3 separate regions of the Homo sapiens genome follow, and all the other regions are linked to region 2. Evidence: promoter capture Hi-C in 16 types of primary human blood cells and fetal thymus (Javierre and others, 2016). All regions are on one chromosome and are shown on one strand. Each heading gives the region's core, a stretch centred on a gene start or on the middle of the fragment in contact. The rest is flanking DNA. Distances are from core to core; before and after follow the strand shown. Region 1 overlaps PGD (phosphogluconate dehydrogenase). Region 2 holds the start of CTNNBIP1 (catenin beta interacting protein 1). Region 3 holds the start of TMEM201 (transmembrane protein 201).

Region 1 (4,270 bases), core at 476-2,975, 510 kb before region 2:
CGGGAGGCAGAGGTTGCAGTGAGTCAAGATCGCATCATGGCACTCCAGTTTGGGCAATAAGAGCGAAACTTGGTCTCAAAAGAAAAAAAAAGGTGTAGTGTGGACAATCTAGTTACAGCAACTGAGGTACAGTGAAGAAGGGAACCACATAATCTAAGCCTATCTTGTGCCAGTGTCCAGTGATGGGGCTAAGTGCCCATCCCTGGAAACTGCTCAAGCTAAGTGTCCTAAGATCGCACTTCTGCACAGCCGTGTGAGTCCTTCCCGTCGGACCCTGGGCTGCCTCTCACTTACCTTCTAATGATGCAGCCCCCTCTCCACATCAGGGCGATGCCACCATAATTGAGAGTCCAGCCAAACTCGGTGGCTGCCTGCCTTAGCAGCATAAAGCCTTGAGCGTAAGAGATGATCTTGGAAGCGTAGAGTGCCTAAAGAGTGACACAGAGACCTACTAGGATTGCCATTAGGAGAGTGACCGCCTTATGTCTACCAGTCTTATTCTCATCAGCAGTGGAGATCCCAGAAGGGCCAATATTCTAGGAAAACATTGTAAGTCAAGATCCAAGTCAAGGCTGAACTTCATTCCACCTGCCATCCTGTGGCCTCGAGTGTTCTCCCACCACAACCCCCACCCCCACTGCCTTCCGCAGGACCAACAAAGACCACTGCCAGGGACTGTGTCCCACCTTCCGAATGTCCTCCAGGAATGATTTCTTATCACCATCAAACTGGAACTTCTGGGGACCCTTCAGCTTTTTGCTAGCTTGAATTCTCTCATCCTTCAGAGATGATAAGCACCGAGCAAAGACAGCTTCTCCTACATGGGGAGATCGGGAAGAGGAAACAGATTACTGTCAGGCCTCTGAGCCCAAGCTAAACTATCATATCCCCTGTGACCTGCATGTATACATCCAGATGGCCTGAAGCAAGTGAAGAATCACAAAAGAAGTGAAAATGGCTGGTTCCTGCCTTTACTGATGACATTCCACCATTGTGATTTGTTCCTGCCCCACCTTAACTGAGCGATTAACCTTGTGACATTCCTTCTCCTGGCTCAGAACCTCCCCAACTGAGCACCTTGTGACCCCTCGGCCCTGCCCGTAAGAGAAAAACCCCCTTTGACTGTAATTTTCCACTACCTGCCCAAATCCTATAAAATGGCCCCACCCCTATCTCCCTTCGCTGACTCTTCGGACTCAACCTGCCTGCACCCAGGTGATTAAAAAGCTTTATTGCTCACACAAAGCCTGTTTGGTGGTCTTTTCACACGGATGCGCATGAAAATTACCAAAGTTCGCACAGCAACCAGAAGAAAGGTGGAGCAGGAAAGTCTGTTTATACAAAGAGCTGAAAGTTTCAACCTTAGGCCACAAAAGTTGACATGGATCGGAAGGAACTTTTATAAGAAGCTCTAAACAGTTAATTTGATAACTAAAACTCTTAAGACAATCTTCCAATACAAACATGAGTATTCAATCACAAAGATTAACATGAAATTCAAAAGGGAGTTTTGAGGGAAAATGAAGAGATAGAAACCACTGTTATGGCTGGGCAAGGTGGCTAACACCTGTAATCCCAGCACTTTGGCAGGCTGAGGTGGGAGGATCACTTGAGCCCAGGAGTTCAAGGCTACAGTGAGCCATGATCACACCACTGCTCTCCAGCCTGGGCAACACAGTGAGACCCTGTCTCTAAAACCAGTAAAATAAAATAAAAACCACTGTTATGTAGAATACTCAGTGTTGGTCCATGAGTAAAATTTCAAATTCAATTTAGAGGACCTTAATTTTTTTTTTTGAAGATTTTACATTGATAAGTCACATTTACGGACTCACCTCTCAAAAAAATGTTAGGTTTTTATATTTTACGGTTTTCAGTATAGCCGTAATCATTCAAGTTTAACCACTTTACTTCATTTGAATTAAAAAGTCAATGTAGTATTTTAATATTAAGACATTTAGTATTTTCAGAAAGTATTCCTTATAAAAGACTTGCTCAACTGACAACTTATAGTTAGAATAAATGACTCTTTAACCACTTTTTCCCCCATAGACAAAATGAAGTAAAATCTCAGGGAACTAACAGAGGACTTTATTTCTGAGGAAAGAGGAGCAGCTATGGCTTGAGACTGCTAACCCTACTCCAAACACACAAAAGCAGCTACCTCTCTCCTGGCCCAAATGCACACACAGGATGACTTAGCATTTCTAGAAGGAAGCTTTGTAAGATGACTGGTGCAACAGGCTATGAGGCAAACCCTTCCTGTTAGAGGGGGAGAGGGCAGCTGGAAGACTTCCCTGTTAGTTCACAAATAATGATGGCTCCCAGCAGGGGGTGGGCCCAGCCACCCTGGGGGAAGAGGTATATGGATCCACAGGAGGAGAGTAGGATTCTGAGATCCTAATACTTACACATATACTTGAGTCCGTGATGAATAAATTGCTCCTAGCTATTGGCCCCTCCCTCCTCACCTATGTTATGGCTCAGATCGGCTAAAAGCAGCCAACTTCCTTCTATACAGCACGGAACTGTAGAAACCACCGACTTTCCTCCTTACTCTGCCTTACACCACACAGTTCAATAGGGCGAGGCACAATGAACAGGGAGGTCAAAAGGGGAGAAGAGTCAAGGGAGAGAAAGGCAACCTGTATCCAGAGGAGCAAACAGGAAAAATTCTGTTTTATTATTTTTGAGATGCTTCTTTTTTTTTTTTTAGGCGGAGTCTTGCTCGGTCGCCCAGCCTGGAGTGCAGTGGTGCGATCTCAGCCCACTGCAAATTCCGCCTCCCAGGTTCAAGTGATTCTCCTGCCTCAGCCTCCTGAGTAGCTGGGATTACAGGCACGGGTCACTATGCCTGGCTAACTTTCGTATTTTTAGTAGAGATGGGGTTTCGCCATGTTGGTCAGGCTGGACTCAAACTCCTGACCTCGTGATCCGCCCACCTCGGTCACCCAAAGTGCTGGGATTACAGGCGTGAGCCACCGCGCCTGGCCCAATTCTGTTTTAATATAGTGAGAACAATCTGCCAGAAGCAAAGATCAGCCTCTCATTAACCACGAGAGGCATCCTTCGTTCTCCTTTTTCATTCCTGCCAGAAGTCTATGTATTTTACTCTTAGAACCACCTTTGCTGGGCATGGTGGCTCACGCCTGCAATCCCAGCACTTTTGGAAGCCGAGGCGGGCAGATCCCCTGAGGTTAGGAGTTCGAGACCAGCCTGACCAATATGGTAAAACCCCGTCTCCACTAATAACACACAAAAATTAGCCAGGCATGGTAGCGCATGCCTGTAATCCCAGCTACTCGGGAGGCTGAGGCAGGAGAATCACTTGAACCCGGGAGGTGGAGGTTGCAGTGACCCGAGATCATGCCACTGAACTCCAGCCTGGGTGACAGAGCACAACACCGTCTCAAAAAACAAACAAACACACTGAAAACCACCCCCCCGGCCAAGATTTTGATATTGTTAATCCCCTCTCGTTTTATGTTTATTTCTTTATATTATTTCCTTATCTTTCTGAGTTTGATGCTTAGCTCACTAATGTAAGATATAAAACAAGTGGGCAGGATACACACCAACTTCAGGATAGTGGCTTTCTTCTAAAAGAGGAAGGAGAAGGAACTTAGCAAAACAACGAGGACTCAAATGGATAGGTAATTTTTATCTTTTTAATATCTAGGGGAAAAAAGTAAATTTTTAATAATTTCTGAGTACACAAGCATATGTTATTCGCAAACTTTTTTTGGAGGGGATGGAGTCTCATTCTGTTGCCCAGGCTGGAGTGCAGTGGCATGATCTTGGCTCACTGCAACCTCTGCCTCCTGGGTTCAAGCGATTCTCATGGCTCAACCTCCTGAGTAGCTGGGATTACAGGCACCTGCTAATTTTTTTTTTTTTTTGAGACGAAGTCTCGCTCTGTCACCCAGGCTGGAGTGCAGTGGTGCCATCTCAGCTCACTGCAAACTCTGCCTCCCAGGTTCAAGCAATTCTCCTGCCTCAGCCTCCTGAGTGGCTGGGACTACAGGCACGTGCCACCACACCTGGCTAATTTTTTGTATTTTTAGTAGAAACAGGGTTTCATCATGTTAGCCAGGATGGTCTCAATCTCCTGACCTCATGATCCACCCGCCTCGGCCTCCCAAAGTGCTGGCATTACAGGCGTGAACCACTGTGCCCGGCCCTGTTATTCATGAACTTTTCTATGAAAAATTTTACTCAAGTTACCTGCCTCATAAATAAAATCTTAGATCACTGACTACAATTACATCAC
Region 2 (4,007 bases), core at 1,047-3,546:
AAAGAGCTCCCTGTGATCAAGGAACAGGCACAAGGCCCATATGTGGCTAGAGCCCAGTTGGCAAAAGTGGTTCAAGATCAGGCTGTAGCCAGATCCTGTAAGGCCTTGTTGCCACACTAAGGACTTTGAACTTCCTCGTGAAAATGAAGAGAAGTCGTTGAATAGCGCAGGTCTGACAAGATTTTAAGAAGTTTCCTTTAGTTGCTGTGTGGGCAGTGAATGGGGGCGTAAGGAGAGCCTAAAGGAGAGACTGCTTGAAGGGTTATTGCAGGAGTCAAGGTGATAGCTGGTGGCAGGTTAAACTGGGAAAGAGGGGTAGAGATGGTAGGAGGTGGAGAGATTAAGGACACCATTTAGAATTGGAAACAACATGGACTGGAAATGAAGAATAAAGGAAAGAGTGGTGTCAACGGTACAATTTAAGTGTCTGGTGTAAGCAACTGGGTAGAGAGTGGTGCCAGTTACTGAAGGTGGGGACACTGTAGGAGAAACCCACTTGGGGACCAATTTTTTTTTTTTTTTTTTTTTCAGACAGAGTTTCGCTCTTGTTGCCCAGGCTGGAGTGCAATGGCGCAATCTCGGCTCACTGCACCCTCGCCTCCCGGGTTCAAGCGATTTTCCTGCCTCAGTCTCCTGAGTAGCTGGGATTACAGGCATGCGCCACCACGCCCGGCTAATTTTTGTATTTTTAGTAGAGACGGGGTTTCTTCATGTTGGTCAGGCTGGTCTCCAACTCCCGACCTCAGGTGATCTGTCTGCCTTGGCCTCCCAAAGTGCTGAGATTACAGGCATGAGCCACTGCGCCCGGCCGGGGACCTATTAAGTATGAAAAAGTGTGAGCAGGCCGGGTGCGGTGTCTCAGGCCTGTAATCCTAGCATTTTGGGAGGCCGAGGCGGGCAGACCACTTGGGGTCAGAAGTTGGAGACCAGCCTGGCCAACATAGAGAAAACCCGTCTCTACTAAAAATACAAAAATTAGCCGGGGCGCATGCCGGTAATCCCATCTACTCAGGAGGCTGAGGCAGGAGAATCGCTTGAACCCGGGAAGCGGAGGTTGCGGTGAGCCAAGATCGCGCCACTGCACCTGAGCCTGGGCGACAGAGCGAGACTCCCTCTCAAAAACAAAAAAACCCCCCAAATGAGTAAAGAGTAATGTGGATATTATATTATAAACGAACAAACAAAAAAGGACTTCGTATTCTTTTTGCATAGGGAAGGGGAAGAAATGTGGAGTGGAAGAGGATGGTACAGAAAAGGTGTAAAAAGAAAGGCTGTGGGAGGAGTAGGGTAGGAGGGCTTCTGAACTGGGGTTAGTGTCACACTGTGTAACTGATAATTTAAACTGCTGAAAATGAGACCACACTTAAAGATACAGGTCCCTTTAAAAGGAAGGCGGATGTTAAAAGCAATTTGCATTTTACCTAAAATGGGCTGCTTCTCCCTGTACCCTCTCCAAATACAGCCAGACTTTCTGTAGAAACATTTTAATCATGGGCACCCTTCCCCCGAAAAATCCACTCACTACCAGTACACACGACCTTCTGAGTTTAATGGACCTACGGAGGCCCATCCCTGGGCTCTCTGGGCTAGGTTAATCCCAGGTTAGGCCCCAAGCTCAGAGGTAGCAACGTTCCCAGCTCAACGACGCAGGAAGACCACGCCTCTAAATGTTCTGCAACCTCGTCCATTTCAGAATTTTCCGGGGTTCTGGGTAAACTGGCCTCACCAAGGATTCTGCCCCGTCTTGTTGCTCCCGTTTTTAAACACAGACCGGTGTGTGGGAGAGGCCATTATTTTTCCGGAACACTGTGCTCCTGGAGCAGATAGGGACACGCAGAGTGGCTTTACCGCAGCGCCAGCTTCAGCCTTACCCGGCTCCTCCTCCAGGCCACCGCCTCCTCCTCGCGCCCAACCCGCCTTCCCTGCTCACCCCCGGCCCGCTCCTCCCCTTTGCTCTCAGCGCGGACTCGGCCACTCACTACCGGCGCCGTGTTCCACCCGCCCACCGCATGGCCCCGTCCCTATGTCGCTGGTCTCGCCCCCTTCCAGGAGGGCCCAATGAGCGTTCACATGCGCCACAAGGCCCCGCCCCGCACCGCGCAGCCCCGCCCACAGGCTGAGTTAACCAATTCGCGGCCCCGGGCCCCGCCCCGCCCGCAGGCCCCGCCCCGGCGCCCGGCCCCACGCGCCCGCCTCCCTCCGGGGCGTTGCCGCCGCCGCGCCTCAGCAGCCCGCGCGGAGCCAGATGCCGCCCCCTCCGCCGGTCCCTCCCCCGGCGGCCTGGCGCCTCCCTCCCTCCCCACCGCGGTGACTCTCGGAGCGGGAGGCGGAGGCTGAGGCGGCCGCTCCTGCTGCTGCTACTGCCGCCGCCGCAGCGGCTGCTCGGGCTGAGCACGCCCCGGAACAGGCCGCCGCGCGCTGCGCGCCGGACCCGCTGCCCCTGCCGGCCCGGCCGGGTCGGGCGGCCCAGGTAAGCGCCGAGGCCGGGCCGCGCCTGCACCGCCCGGGCCCGCGCCGCGCCGCGCCGGGGCTTGGGGGAGCGGCCAGCCCTTTGTCTGCCGGGGAGGGGCCGCGGAGAGCGCCCCCGACCCCGCTCGGACCCCTGACTGCCCCAGCGGCGCGGCGCCCTGGTCTGGGCCTGGCCGCCTCTCGCCGCAGACCACCTCCCGCCTCCCTGACTCTTCGCCCGGGGGTCGCCTCCACAGGTGTCCGCGCCGCCCACCTTGTTGCTCACCTCACCGCGTCCGGGTGCCTGTCATCGCCCGTCCGCCCTCCCGACCTCTGGGCCCCTGCCTCTTCCCTCACCTGCGCCCACTCTGAGACTCTTACTCTCCATATTTCCCCAAACTAAACGCTGGGCCGCCCTTCCTCCCTCTGTAGTTTGATTGAACTGTCGTCTCCCGATTCCACCCCTCCCCGGTGAGCCTTCCTGGAAGGTACCTGGTGGGGGCACATATCTCACCTGGATGGCGGGCGTGTATGCACGAACCTGCAAAATTAACCACCTGGAGCCCCAAACTGCACCTCTCACCTCCTTTTCATCACCCCACCCCAACCACCTTCCTTTTTTTGGAACCTGGTAACCGAGACACTCAGGTCTGGACACCCAGCCTCTGCTAGGCCCTCCATCCCTCCCTCTGCCTTGTGAGCTGAACTTGTCTGAGCAGTGCCTGTTGTCAGGTTAGCCCCTGGGAAGGCGGCGGGGGCCGTGTTGGCCGCAAATCAAGAGTTTTATGAATAATGAGACGTGTGGCTTGCACCACCTCCTGTCTGAGGATCTCAGTATGCTCCAGCTGTGAATTATTTTGTCTCCTGTCACTCACAGAACTGAGAGGAACATGTCTGGCCAACTGCTGGGTAAATTGAGGTACAGGGTGTGTGGGTAAGGGACCTGGAGGCAAGTCATGGTTTGTCTTGAAGTTCTGTTCGCAGGAGCCTTGGCTCTTAGCTCCCTGCTACAACCACTGGGCTCCAGTTCCTGGAGTGTGTCCCCAAGTGATAACTGATCTCTTGTGCCATTAAAATGTCCAGAGATACCAGCAGCTTCCTCAGATTTAAAGTAGGACTTTGGATCATAAATAAAGGTGCGGGCTGTTAAATGCCAATGTGTCATTCACGGTTTGCTGGGGGAGTTCGTGGTCCTCCCTTGTAAATACAAATCACCTCTATGGGATGGAGATTCATTCATTCAGTAGTGAGCATTTACTATGTGCCAGGCACCGTTCCAAGTACTGGGGCTTTAGTGGTGAAGACAGACACGGTTTCTGCCCTCCTCAGAGATGACATTTTAAAGAGGAGGAAAGTCAGACAATAAGTGAGTAAACAAACAAGTGGACAAAATAATTTCAGTAGTGGTAAGTGCTATGAAGATGGAGAGGGGCCAGATTACATATAAGAATCTGTGGCCGGGCGCGGTGGCTCACGCTTGTAGTCCCAGCACTTTGGGAGGCCGAGGCGGGCGGATCACGAGGTTAGGAGATCGAGACCACGGTGAAACCCCATATCTA
Region 3 (4,223 bases), core at 1,314-3,813, 320 kb after region 2:
CCACTTCTCTTCTGCAAGCCAACAACCTCCGTCCTTAACTTGACTCTGGGACAAACCACAGTTGGTGGGCAAGGTTTGAGGTAACGTGACAGAATGTCCCTGCAACACAAGCAAGAGAGGAGCTCGGGCCTGGAGGGGCTGCCCCTGCCCACAACGGTTCCAGCTCTGGGGGGACAGCAGCTGGCCCTATGGGTCCCATTTGATGGGTGGACACGAGGGCCTGGAGGCCACTATCTCGGCTCCTGCTAGCTCGATGCCGAGCCCCTGGGAAGCCTGAGGAAGCCCGGAGGGAGATGGGTCCCTAAGAAAAAGCTAGGGCAGCTGCATGCTCTGTACCTGCCCCGTCCACAAGCCCAACATACACACTGAGGGAAAACAAGACGGGCACGTGTCCTTAATGATGACACCACTCCAGAGCCCTGAGCACGGACATGTATTGAAACAAAGCTCCTGCGGGATGCCTCACTATTCCCTGCAGGTGGGAGGGGCTCTGTTCTAGGTGCGAGCCCAGCGCTGGGTCCTCAGCCTAGGAAAGCACCAGGTAGGGGGAACCTGCTAGAGGGGGCACTGGATGGGGCTTGGTCCCTGCCCTGGGGAGCTCAGTGGTTGTAGCAGGCTGGCCAGCTCCCAGAGTCTCTGCCCAGCCCTGGGAAATCATCACCTCCTCAGACAGGGGCCTTAGCACATTGCTCAGGACCTGGGACACTGTGTGCTGGCCCCAGTGCGGGGTTGGAAAGACTGTAAGAGTCAGGTTCCCTCAGGGGCCAGGGAGCCAGAGGCCAGCCTCCCAAGCAGCTCCTCACCTGCACTTCCCGCTTAAGTGGGCAACACCGTGTTTCATTCAACCAGAAGGACCAGAGAAGAGGCCTCCTGGGCTTCAGCGACAGAAGCATCAAAATGCAACTCAGAACTTAGCACTGCCAGGGCCTCCAGCCCATCTCCAAGCAAAACATACTTGAATCCACAGCAGCAACTCCAACATCAGGATGGAAAACGCCCCAATCCACCATTCTAGGGTCGCTCCTGGTGCGAGCGGAACATCCCATCAGTTAAGCAAGCACCACCCTAGGCTGGCAGAGATGCAAACGTGAGCAAGACAAGAACGACGACCTCCCAGGGCAGCTGGTGACAGATACCACAGGACAGAGGCCAATAAGCGGGGCATCTGCGGTCGCCCTGAAGCACAGCTGTGCTCACCAGCAGGGCAGACGGCAGAGGGAGGGGACCACCCAACGTATGCCCGGGGTGCGGCGGTTGCTCAGGGAGAGTGCGCAGCAGCAGGAGAGTGAGTGGGAGGGGGGAGCCTGGAAACGGGAAGGGCCGTTACAGGGGACTCTGACTTCCAGAATGAGGCTCTGCTGCATATCCTCTGGGAGGCTGCATCCTCTTTGTCCCCAAACACTAGAAAGGAGACAATCCCAGTAAACACCAACAAAGCCCCGGAGGCGGGGCGGTGGTGTGTGCAGGGATGTGCTGGCAGAGCACGGATCCTGGGCATCGTTTGAAGAGGGCTGAGGACAGGCACCCGAGCAGCAGCGTCCAGGGGACAGGGAGGCCTAGGAAGCCACAGACTTCACGACGGCCTGGACACAGGGAAGTGAAACTGGGGCATCTGCCCCCCAACTGTGCCGACCGTGGTGGCTTCCCATAGGTGCAGAGAAGCAGCCAAGGGGCTCCATGAGCACCCAGAGGTTGAAGCTGGGCTGACAAGCTGAAGTTCTGGTGCGAGGCAGGGCCCTGCCATTTAACAGCCGGGTGATGTGGGGCAGGTAGCCCAACCTCCCCAAGCTTTGGTTTCCTCATCTGTAAAATGGGAGAACAGTAGAGCCCGCCCTGGCAGTTTCATGAGGAGACAGTGTGCTGTGCTTACAGCCATCAGCTGCTCCCATCAGTAACAACCATGGAAGCGAGAGGACTCCATGCGTGGGGAAGCCAGGGCGGGCCCTGACTGAGGCTGTGGGAGGACTCAGTCCTTCAGAGAAGCAGCCTCCTTCCCATGCGCCTCAGCCAGTCCTAAAGCACAAGGTGGGGCTGACCTGCCCACTCCCTCTACATCTTCCTCTCTGTCCATCTCTGTGCTGAGCCTGCAAACACCCACCCAGCCAAGTCGCCTTCCAAAAACAGCTCTCCTTACATGCCCTCCCGAGGGTCATTCAAAACCTACACTGCAGCCAGAGTCAATGCTTGGTTCCTCACTGTCACAGCACTCTCCTCCTCGGAGGAAGGCTCAACCTCTTGCTAGGTTGGTCTGGCTTCTGAATCGTGACAGTGGCCAATTTATGACCTCCAGGTGAAACCCAGTGCTCTATGAGGACATCTTAAAGCATCCTGGGAAAGGCTGGCCCTTCTCGGCCCAATCAACAGCAAGGGTCTCAATGCCACACCGTGACCTGCTGGTGTCGTCAGGGGCGTGAAAGGACTTCCAGGCACCCTCCTAGTTCCCCTGGCACCAGCTAGCCCAATATCTCTCCAAGGCCCCAGACTCTTGTTTCCAGGAGATGGAGAGCTGTGGCCAGCAGGGCAGGAAGGGGAGACAGCATCCCTGAGGACAGCTGCAGTGTGTGGCACAGTGAGCCACCCAGTCCAAGTCCAGCCTCAATAAACACAACGGAGGTGCTGTGTGGCTGGCAGACTATCCCCTCCCCCAGGCTCTCATCCTTGAGGCAACACCCCCCATCCTGGGTTAGCTGAGAGGCGGCTTCGTCCAGGAAGAACACCGGGTGCTGGACCAGCTCAGCTGGCAACATGCTCTGGGAATGTGAGCAAATCACCTGAGGTCTCTGGACCTCGGTCCCCTGGGTATAAAACCACCGGCTTGGACAAGCTGGTCCTGCAGATGCTCAACTTCCAGGAATCCAGCAGAAACCGACATGGAGAGACTTGGGTTGTCAGGGACCTCTGGGCTGGGGTCACTCAATCCCCAGCTACCCTCCTCAGTCACATCTGGCCCATCCTCCAGACACAGCTGATGTCCCTCCCATGCCTTCCTCCTCTGGGAAGCCTCTGTGACTCAACCACCTGTACTTCTTTTTCCCCGTTTCCCCCCTGGAGGAGAGAAGCAGCACCGGTATGTGTTAAGGAAGAACAAACAGACCAGCCAGACGATCAGGGTTCAAACCCCAGCTCTGCCACTTGCTGCTGAGTGGGCAAGTCCCTTCTCCCCTTTTTCCTAAGGGTGTGAGCTCATTGCATCCCTTGCCGAAGCTGCAAACCCATCCACTCTTTCTAGGATGTTCTCACAACCCCACTTTCCCCCCTGCCCTCTGGAAAGGTGGATCAAGTGGAGAAACAGTAAGCTACCTGCGAGGCTCTGCTGAAGCAACAGGCCACTAAGCTTTTATGCCTGGCGATGGAGGCCGATGAAAGAGGCCGGATCTGAACCCGGGGGCCCGCATGGCCCGTGAGCCGGGCAGGGAGGAGGGTGGCCCCGGCCCGTCTTGAACTGTTTGGAGGCATCTCAGGCCTTGCCCACCTCTGGGAGGCAGCCCAGCCTCGGGGTCTGCCCTGCAGATTCCATCGGCTCAAACCATGATTCCTCTCATTAACAGCAAGTTACTGAGCCTCCCTGTCCCTCAGCTGCTCTAGCGTAAGCAGGGGCTGTGGCTCTGAAACGCGCGGATGCGAGGCGTGTAGAAAAACGCCCGGGACGTCACATGCCGAGCAGCAACCGCCAGCCGCGATCGCCAGCATCGCCGTGCACCGGGGCCCAGCACGGGGCTGAGGGCAGGGGCGGCCCGTGCGCACCGGCTCCAGCCCCCCGCGGCTCCCGGAGGAAGTTTGTGGCCCCCGCGCGGCGCTCTCGCCCGCGCCCCACGTTCCCGGAGTCCCCGCCGCTCCACTCGACTCCGCAGCCGCTTCCCGACTGCAGTCTCAACCCGGTCTCGGGGGGCGGCGGCGCGCGCCGGGGGTCTCCGCGCGCCCGCGGGCAGCCCGGGTCCCGGCCGAGGGGGGCAGCGGGCCGGGGCGGCGCGGGGGCGGGCCTGGCGGGCGGCGCAGAGGGCCGCGTGGGGCCGAACCATGCACTCACCTCCGCGCGATCCGGTAGAGCAACACGCCGGCCGCGGCGCACGCCGTGACCCCCAGGCCGCCGGCCAGGCCGGCCGTGGGGCAGCGGGCCAGCAGCGCGCTCACTCCCTCCATGGCTCTCCGCGTGGAAGGACGGCAGGCCGGCAGGGGGGTAGGCGGGTAGGCGGGTAGGCGGGTAGGCGGGCAGGCGGGCAGGC

Evidence for each region. The method cuts DNA at HindIII sites, captures the fragments that hold promoters and counts their contacts. A CHiCAGO score of 5 or more calls a contact.
Region 1: a contact is called between a fragment that was not itself captured here and the fragment with the promoter of CTNNBIP1 in region 2, in 5 of 17 cell types (erythroblasts, fetal thymus, total CD8 T cells and 2 more). The highest score is 8.1, in erythroblasts.
Region 3: a fragment that was not itself captured here is called in contact with the fragment with the promoter of CTNNBIP1 in region 2 in 4 of 17 cell types (total B cells, activated CD4 T cells, naive CD8 T cells and 1 more); the score reaches 5.8 in total B cells.

What each region holds. Positions count from the first base shown.
Region 1 is chr1:10,413,534-10,417,803 of GRCh38, reverse strand. It overlaps PGD (phosphogluconate dehydrogenase), which reads right to left. Exons shown (of 13, transcript NM_002631.4): 9 at 687-817; 10 at 295-428. Among named protein-coding and RNA genes, the nearest start is that of CENPS, 15 kb to the left of the region's middle. The HindIII fragment of the contact is 991 bases long and covers 1,230-2,220 here.
Region 2 is chr1:9,908,558-9,912,564 of GRCh38, reverse strand. CTNNBIP1 (catenin beta interacting protein 1) reads left to right here and starts at 2,296. Exons shown (of 6, transcript NM_020248.3): 1 at 2,296-2,470. RefSeq lists enhancers at 355-1,027, 1,028-1,701 and silencers at 1,849-2,448, 2,459-2,518, 2,689-2,748. The HindIII fragment of the contact is 9,783 bases long and covers 1-4,007 here.
Region 3 is chr1:9,588,848-9,593,070 of GRCh38, reverse strand. It overlaps TMEM201 (transmembrane protein 201), which reads right to left and starts at 4,160. Exons shown (of 11, transcript NM_001130924.3): 1 at 4,028-4,160. The coding sequence starts at 4,140. RefSeq lists silencers at 3,715-3,784, 3,945-4,144, 4,155-4,223. The HindIII fragment of the contact is 1,546 bases long and covers 1,791-3,336 here.